3 separate regions of the Homo sapiens genome follow, and regions 2 and 3 are each linked to region 1. The links are contacts of gene promoters, found by promoter capture Hi-C in blood cells and fetal thymus (Javierre and others, 2016). All regions are on one chromosome and are shown on one strand. The core of a region is centred on a gene start or on the middle of the fragment in contact, and the rest is flanking DNA. Distances in the headings are between cores, read along the strand shown. Region 1 holds the start of WT1-AS (WT1 antisense RNA). Region 2 overlaps EIF3M (eukaryotic translation initiation factor 3 subunit M). Region 3 overlaps CCDC73 (coiled-coil domain containing 73).

What was found. Contacts are between HindIII fragments. The CHiCAGO score rates a contact against its expected background, and 5 or more counts as called.
Region 2: a contact is called between a fragment that was not itself captured here and the fragment with the promoter of WT1-AS in region 1, in 3 of 17 cell types (megakaryocytes, erythroblasts and M1 macrophages). The highest score is 9.1, in megakaryocytes.
Region 3: a contact is called between a fragment that was not itself captured here and the fragment with the promoter of WT1-AS in region 1, in 1 of 17 cell types (M2 macrophages). The highest score is 5.0, in M2 macrophages.

The regions. Positions count from the first base shown.
Region 1 is chr11:32,434,216-32,436,915 of GRCh38, forward strand. It overlaps WT1-AS (WT1 antisense RNA), which reads left to right and starts at 1,303. Exons shown (of 5, transcript NR_120548.1): 1 at 1,303-1,631. It overlaps WT1 (WT1 transcription factor), which reads right to left and starts at 1,324. Exons shown (of 10, transcript NM_024426.6): 1 at 485-1,324. The coding sequence starts at 1,145. RefSeq lists enhancers at 1-257, 1,365-1,397, promoters at 1,125-2,323, 1,125-1,775, 1,417-1,519, 2,423-2,700 and cis regulatory regions at 1,704-1,741, 1,726-1,852, 1,945-1,964. The HindIII fragment of the contact is 4,267 bases long and covers 1-1,770 here.
Region 2 is chr11:32,591,255-32,593,954 of GRCh38, forward strand. EIF3M (eukaryotic translation initiation factor 3 subunit M) reads left to right here. Exons shown (of 11, transcript NM_006360.6): 6 at 2,612-2,695. It also overlaps the pseudogene HNRNPA3P9. Among named protein-coding and RNA genes, the nearest start is that of EIF3M, 8.8 kb to the left of the region's middle. The HindIII fragment of the contact is 1,357 bases long and covers 577-1,933 here.
Region 3 is chr11:32,609,865-32,612,596 of GRCh38, forward strand. CCDC73 (coiled-coil domain containing 73) reads right to left here. Exons shown (of 18, transcript NM_001008391.4): 17 at 1,268-1,401. Among named protein-coding and RNA genes, the nearest start is that of EIF3M, 27 kb to the left of the region's middle. The HindIII fragment of the contact is 7,325 bases long and covers 1-2,732 here.

The sequences.
Region 1 (2,700 bases), core at 53-2,552:
GGACATTTTAGCGCTGCGGAGGCAGCACAGCACAGGCGCTCACCCCCGCGCTGGTCCCACTCCGAATCCAGAGTCCAGACGTCTGAAAAGCGCTACGCTTGGTGACAATTTGGCGTTTCCTTAATTAACAAAACTCTCCCCAAGGCAGAGCCAGACACTGCGCCGGTCTCCTGGTTCCACTCCCGTGGGGACTAGCAGTCCCGGAATCTCTCGGACTCTAAGGGGCCCCAGACGCCCTCCCGGCTCTTGCGAACAGTCAGGCTCCTAGCTCTGCCTGGCTTTGGAGGATGTCGGGGGCCAGTGCCTGCGTGCACTCCCACTCTCCGGCCTCCTCCCCAGCCGCCGCTTCCGCTATCCTCACGGCCCTTGGGAAGCAGCTGGGTAAGAGCTGCGGTCAAAAGGGGTAGGAGAGGGGGGTGTCCTAGAGCGGAGAGTCCCTGGCGCCACTGCCCCGCGCGTAGGGGGCGCTCCCCGGCCTACTTACCCTGATTGCGAATAGCGGGCTGGCTCTCGAGGCAGCTGGGCAGGTAGGGCGCGTTAGGAAACATCCTGGCCTGGCCGGATGACGCCTGGCTGGGCGGAGGAGGACCGAAGGGCCCGTAGCGACAGGCTCCGGCTGTGCCAGTGAACTGGCCGGAAAAGTGGACAGTGAAGGCGCTCAGGCACTGCTCCTCGTGCGGCTCCGCGCCGCCCCAGCTCGGCTCCTGTTTGATGAAGGAGTGAGGCGGCGGCGGCGGGGGTGGCGGCGGAGCCGGTGGCGGCGCGGGGCCGCCCAACGACCCGTAAGCCGAAGCGCCCGGGGGCGCAAAGTCCAGCACCGGCGCCCACTGCGCCGCGCCGCTCACAGGCAGGGCACAGCCGCCGCCGCCACCCAGGGAGGGGACGGCGGGCAGCAGCGCGTTCAGGTCCCGCACGTCGGAGCCCATTTGCTGCGGCTCAGACCCGGACGCCCCGCGGCTCCTCCGGCCCTGGAGACGTTCAGCGCTGGCCTCGGCGGCGCCTAACTTGGCCCAGATGCCGCCCGGGTCCCGGACTCCCTGCTGCTCTGGCTGCTGTAGGCACCCAGGCCCGGAGCGGAGCGTGTGCTGAGACGCCGGCTCCGGGACACACGTGGAAGCCGGGTCCTGCAGCAAGAGGAAGTCCAGGATCGCGGCGAGGAGACGGCGGGGCCCGGGCGCCTGGGCTGCCGTCCCGGCTCTGGGTGGGTGGGTGGGTGAATGAGTAGGTGGGAGGGAGGGCGGGAAGTGGGGGAGCGGACAGGCGGTCGGGTTGCGGAGAGCCCCCGGGTGTGGGCGCTGCCTTGAACTCCTTACCCCAGCTGCCTGGCTGCCCTCAGCTTCCCAAAGCTCAAATAAGAGGGGCCGGCGGCGCGGGGAAGAGGAGGAGCCAGGAGGCTCGGCCGCTCCATTCACTCAGCAGCCCAAGCCCGGCCAGGCAGCGCGCGCTGCTCCTTGGGGGCGCCCTCGCAGCTGGGGTGAGGGCGGGTCCGAGGGAGCGTCCCTCTCGGAGACACCCTCCTCTTCAACCCAACACGCGCTCTCAGCTGGCCGGTGTGGCACAACCCTCCCCCCACCTCCCCTTCTTGGCCTTCGCCAGTGTGGGAGCCTCGTCTCACTGGAGAGTCCGTTCAGGTAAGCAGTGAGTCCGGGCAGGGTCGAATGCGGTGGGAGTAGAGATGGGGTTGTTAATCTAAAAGAGTGGTTTGGAGGGAGGGGCAGGTAGGCTCCAAGAGGGCGGGAACTTCAGGAAAGCGCAGAAAGAACTCAGTCAAGCTTCAAAGAAGCGTATACCCTTGCTTTGCACCCTTGAGTCTGGCTCTTGCTTCTAGAACTGTCGGGTAGGGGAGTGGCCATGATCTTGGGGTCACTGGGGAAAGAGGTGGCCCTTTGTGGGTTCCAGAGGTCGGGACTGAAAGCGAACGTCCCTCAGTTGGGTGGCCGGGAGTTGCACCAGTTATAAGCCGGGCGTATTTCGATCGGCTAGTAGTTGTTTACTTGGTGAGGTTTGCGCCAGGCGGAAGGCGGTTGCCGCCTACCTAAAATTGGAGTCAGCAGCACTTAGTTTCCCTTTCCAGTGAGGAATATCTAATTCTTCTACGGTTAAGCCGGGAAAACAGCGGCTAGTTTAGGAGGGAAGAAAACCCTTGGGCAAACGCCCAAAGCCTGCGTATATTCCGGCCGGAGCATCCTGGCGCCCAGTTTGGGGAGGAGGGGTGAAGGGGAGGGTTTGGATACGAAGCCCGGCAGGGAGCGGGTAACTCCTGGAGCCACTCCGCCGAGCACTGCCTGTGGCCCTGGTCGAGGATACCATTCTGGTTGCTCAGTGATTGACCAGGAGGCGGAAGCCAGTTAAGGGGACCAAGGAGTGGAGTAGGGAGAACCTCCATCGGCCCACGGGCGCGAGTTAGTGTTCGAATCTTTGGGAGCTCGAAGAGCTTCGCTAAATCTGACTCCCTTCGTCTAGTCTCTGTTTGGCAGCCCCCGCGCCCCAGAGCAGGTGTTTGGGGCGGGTAGGGGGTGTTTTGGTTTGGTTTTTGGATCTTCTAAAGGAGTCAGTATCTATTGGGAAACAACCCCTAGGCAAGGAGAAGAACCGGGGGCCGGAGCGGAGCGTGTTTCAGAGGTGCGTATAAAATCCCAGGGGCGCCAGGAGGCAGCAGCGACGGCGCAGCGTGGGACGGCCAGGCGCGACGGGAGGGAA
Region 2 (2,700 bases), core at 5-2,504, 160 kb after region 1:
AAGTATACTGTAGTTGCTAAAACTGGAAAATGACTTGCACCTGTGCTTACAGTGTGGCACAAGATAACTAATGAGTAAGATGTGGTTTTTTAAAAGTTTTTCTTTGAATTTTTATAGTTAAGTCATTATACTTTTTAATTTTAATTTTTATTGCAAAGTTAAAAATTCCTTAGTTTTTTATTCCTGGTACCACTACACTACCATAATTTACAGGGTAACATGCCTGATGTAATGAAAAGAAAAAGGCAAAGGTACAACAGATAAAAGACCTCAGGAATGTACATCTAATTGACACTACACTGCATTAATCAATAGTGCACTTTTTGCAACCTGTAGCTATGACAGTCCTGAACAAGAAGGCTTTCCTGTTTAAGCTGCAGTAACTTTTCTGACTGTGGATCATCATTCCTCTGTGGCAGATTTTTACAGTTCCTCTAATGCATTTGGATGATTGCCTCAAAGTAACTTGCAGCTTTTCTGACTTCTCCTTGCTTGCACTCCTGCCAAAAACTGTAGCCCTTTTCTGCTGTTTTTAGAACCTTGTGCTACCATATTTACCACCATAGAGACTGCCCAAGCTTTATCCACCAAAACTGCCCCCTTTCATGCATGGGTCCATAATTTGGTTGTCATTGTCCACTGTAATATCCAAAATCATTATAGTTCCCACCACCACCGTAATTACCACTCCCCAAATTACCTTCTTCATTGTAACCATCATATCCTCCACTGCTGCCACCATATCTACCACCACCATACCCGCCTCTACTATCAAAACCAGGACAACTGCGGTAGTTGCCACCATCACCTTCAAATCCATTATATCCAGCAACCCCTCCTCCATAACTACTTCTGCTGCCACCACCCCAGCACCATATCCTCCTCTTCCACCAGAGTTTCTACCCATGGCCAAAACTACCATCTCCAAAGTTTCCTCCACAACCCATAAAGTTGCTAGATCCACTCCACAACTGCATCTGTTGTTTAAAAAGGGCCCTTTTCACTTCACTAACGCCTGTTAATAGAGTGTTATTTCTGAACCACAATTTTATCATGATCATCAAAAGTTACAAAAGCAAATCCTCTCTTTTTTCCACTCTGCCAGTCCTCCTGTAACTTCTGTGGTTTCAATCTTGCGATACTTTTCAAAGTAGTCTCTCAAATTATGTTCTTCTGTATCTTCTTTAACATCACCAACAAAAATTTTCTTCACTGTTGGATGGGCACTGGGCTTTACAGAACTCTCTCTAGAAACAGCTGTCTTTGGTTCCATTGCACTCCTCAGCCTTGTGTGGTTGAGCACACATTGCTGCATCCACCTCTTCAACACAAGAGTAAGTCACAAAACCAGAGTTTGTGGAACATTTTGTTTGGGGGTCTCTGATTACCACACAACCTGTGAGTGTGCTCCATTTCTTAAAATGTTCTCTAAAACTACCATCTCTAGTTTCAAAGCTCAGACCACCAATAAACAGTTTTTTTTAGCTGCTCTGGCTCCTTTGGATCATGGCCTCTTCCAGGTTGAGTTCAGTATTAATTTTTTATTTTTAGAGACAGGGTCTGACCATGTTGCCCACACTGGAGTACAGTGGGTATTTGGCTGTTCACAGGTGCAATTGTAGTGCATTACAGCCTTGAATTCCTGGGCTCAAGCAAGCCTCCTTAGTAGGTGGGACTATTGGCATGCGCCACTGTGCCTAGGCATTTATATCACTACATTTAAGATGCGGGTTACCACTTAGCCATGCCTACAGTGGTATTTCTGAATCTTAGTAAACCTTAGTTTTGAAAGAAGTTTTAGATAGCATTTACCATTTTAAAATAAATGATACAGTTCCTGCTGATTTTGCCCAGGCTAAACTCAGATGTGGGGAGTAAGTATTTTTAGAAAATGAAAAAAGGAAAAGAAAAACCTCTTCCTCCTAGTTAGCAAAGCTTTCTATAAGCTGAAGATTCCACAGTTTAAAGAAGTCATGAGGAGTAAAGATAAACATTTTCTAAAAGTCCAGTTTGAATGACTGCATTTATTTATTTTGCCCTATTTACTCCAGTGAAACTGATGTATATAACTGTAAGAATAATTTAATTGGAAGGGTATCTTAAGTAGAGTTATTTAAATATTTGGTATTGTCTCAACTTCAGCCATACTGTCCTAACAGTTTCTGGGACACAAAACTTTTTTTGCGCCTAGGGCCTTTATACTTGGTTTTCCCTCTGCTTGGAAAGTCATCTTACCCCACCTTTCATGAACCCAGCTCTTTTCATGGCCAAGAAAAGGATATTTTACATCATTTTGGTCTCAGCTTACTTGCCATCTCTTCTGAGGGAGACTGCTTTCCCACTGTACATAAAGCGGCCTTTCCGTTTTCTGCCCTTGTTGCTTTGATTAAATCACCATTTATTTCCTTCATAGCACTTATTAGTTACTTTTCCTTAGTTGTCCATCTTTCCTACTAAAAGGAAGGTTTTATGACTTTTCCCATAGACAGGGACTTTGTCTCTCTTAGTCACCGTTATAATGTCATCAGCACAGTACCTGCCTCTTAAAAATATTTTAAATGAATGAATAGCAGTAATGCTTTCAAGTTCCTAAAGCAATATTTCTTTTTAGTGATGCTGCTTCAAAAGTCATGGTGGAATTGCTCGGAAGTTACACAGAGGACAATGCTTCCCAGGCTCGAGTTGATGCCCACAGGTAAT
Region 3 (2,732 bases), core at 142-2,641, 180 kb after region 1:
CACCTCCTGGGTTCACGCCATTCTCCTGCCTCAGCCTTCCGAGTAGGTGGGACTACAGGTGCCTGTCACCAAGCCCAGCTAATTTTTTTTTTTTTTTTGTATTTTTAGTAGAGACAGGGTTTCACCATGTCAGCCAGGATGGTCTCGATCTCCTGACCTCATGATCCGCCCACCTCAGCCTCCCAAAGTGCTGGGATTACAGGCATGAGCCACTGCACCCGGCCGGCAAAAGGCAGTTCTTACATGGCGGCAGCAAGAGAGAAGAGAGCTTGTGCAGGGAAACTCCCATTTTTAAAACCATCAGATCTTGTGGGATTTATTCACTGTCATGAGAATAGCACAGGAAAGACCCGCCCCCATGATTCAATTACCTCCCACTGGGTCCCTCCCATGACACATGGGAACTGTGGGAGTGACAATTCAAAATGTGATTTGGGTGGGGACAAAGCCAAACCATATCAAGGATAGTTCCTGATTTTTGTCTCAACTCTCCCAGAAGAGTTATACTATCTCACTTGAGGTTTCTCCTATTTAGAAAGGAAAATAAAATACATTGTTAAAAGCTGTTATTTGTTAAGGATGTGTTAGTACTATAATATTCATTTTGTATATGCTAAAGAGAAAGTTGTTTAATAGTTTGAACACTACAACCTTTTTCTTGCTTAAAGTTCTATACACTATGATATAAAACTTACACATTTAACCAGATAACCTTCCTGCTATAGTTAGTTGCTTTCTATATGACAAATAGACTCCTGGAAGCCATATAATTTCTACAAATACTTTAATACATATATCCATACAGTATCACATGGATACTTGATCCTTTCACACGTGTTCTAATTGAAATAGTTTTAAATTCTTTCCATCTCAGTTTCCAAAAATAATGTGAATTTACTTAAGGATTATTAAAAACAATTGGACTTGATTAGCTTACTTTTAGACATAACCTTTTATTAACATAAAATTTTAAATGCTCAAATACCACTATTTCCAAATTTAGATGAGTAAGAAATAGAAGTACATATCCGATGCCTCACACTCTCCTTCCCCAAACAGGCTGGATTGTATCTATTTGATTTATACACTGTGACTTTTTCCTGCTGTTTTCTATCAACCTTAATTGTGAAAAATGGTGCCATGTTGCCCTCTTGATATTATTTTGGAGATCAGTTAGGTCTTAAAGCATCCAGATGCGTACAGTTCTACACATATCTGTAGAATTAGCTCACTAAGGTCTGCTCGGCAATATTTTTAATTGACTTACATGTTCTGTGGGAAAAGAGGAATCATAAAAAGTCTTTGCCATTGCATTCTTCTCTTCACTGGGTTCTCCCTTGGGATCTGGATGGATACTCCAGTTATTCAAAGTGTCAGCAACTCTGTTAATGCTGGTAGTATCTGATTGATAAAGAGGAAATGGCAACAACTGAATTTTTCTCTAGGTACTCATTTTAGTGACTGAACTTGTTTCTGATCCTATGCTTTTGTATTTAAAAAGCAACAAATTTCTATTTTAATGTTGAATATTTTGCAGTTGTCCTAGACTTTGCTCTTAAATTAGGCATTTCATTTCTGAAAACAAACAAGATTTTATTATTGCTACTTTCTAAAACCTGATTACTGTAATTCCACATTAAAAGCAGTGAAAGAAATGGTATAAATACCTTCTAAAACAAAATAACTCATAAAATGTTATCATTATTCCCCTGGTTACTGTATTTCCCACACATGTAAGCATTTGTATAGTGAATATTTTACCAACTCAGATTAATGGAAAAAGTCAGAACCAACTACATACCAGATTTATAAACTATTTAAAGAAATTGGCCACAGTGAGAAGTCCAACAAAGGGCTGTTTAGAAGGGGTCACATTGGGCTTTAATAAATTGATAGAAATGAGTTAGAGAAGTATGTAAATTATGAAGGTTAAAAGATACTGATGGCATATTTAAGAGTATTTTACAAGTTGAATTTCTACAGAATTTTAGATATCACCCTTTGTATCTTATATATCACTGAAATTTAATTACAAGAAAGGACTTCAAAAAAAATGGTAGATTTTTAGACCAGCACCTAAAGCAATACCTAATTAAAAGTTAATGGAATCTTAAGTAATATATTTTGTGACCTTGAAAAATTGCAGTTTGGGAAATGAGGTTATACAGTGTTTTGGTTATTTGATTTTCGCCTACATTATTTCCCATTGGTAGTAGTAAACAAGATATGTTTTTGTTTTTAATCACCAAATAGTCTCTTTAAATTTTTCTCAATTTCCTTTTTAAAAGAAGCCTGTTAAATCTGAGGGCCATATAAAAGCTATCCTTGGAATCTGCATCTTTTTAAGGTGTCTAAGTGCACAATGTTAAACCCACAAAGTTCCCTTAAAATATAAGAATGCCTTTAACAACCTTAGCAACTTTTGACTATGAGATTGCTATTAAAAGAAAACATGCTGTCCCAAAAATAAAAACAATTAAAAAACCATTTTCCTCATGATCATACTTCTTAAATACTGCTTTTTATTTTCAATTTATATTTATACAGCACCAATTCATGATAATCTAGTATGTTTTTATTTTTAAATACTGTGAAAAATTTTCAGGCCGGGTGTGGTGGCTCCCAGCAATTTGGGAAGCTGAGGCAGGAGGATCACTTGAGCCCAGAAGTTCAACACCAGCCTCGGCAACAAAGTGAGACCTGTCTCTACAAAAAATTTTAAAACTTAGCTG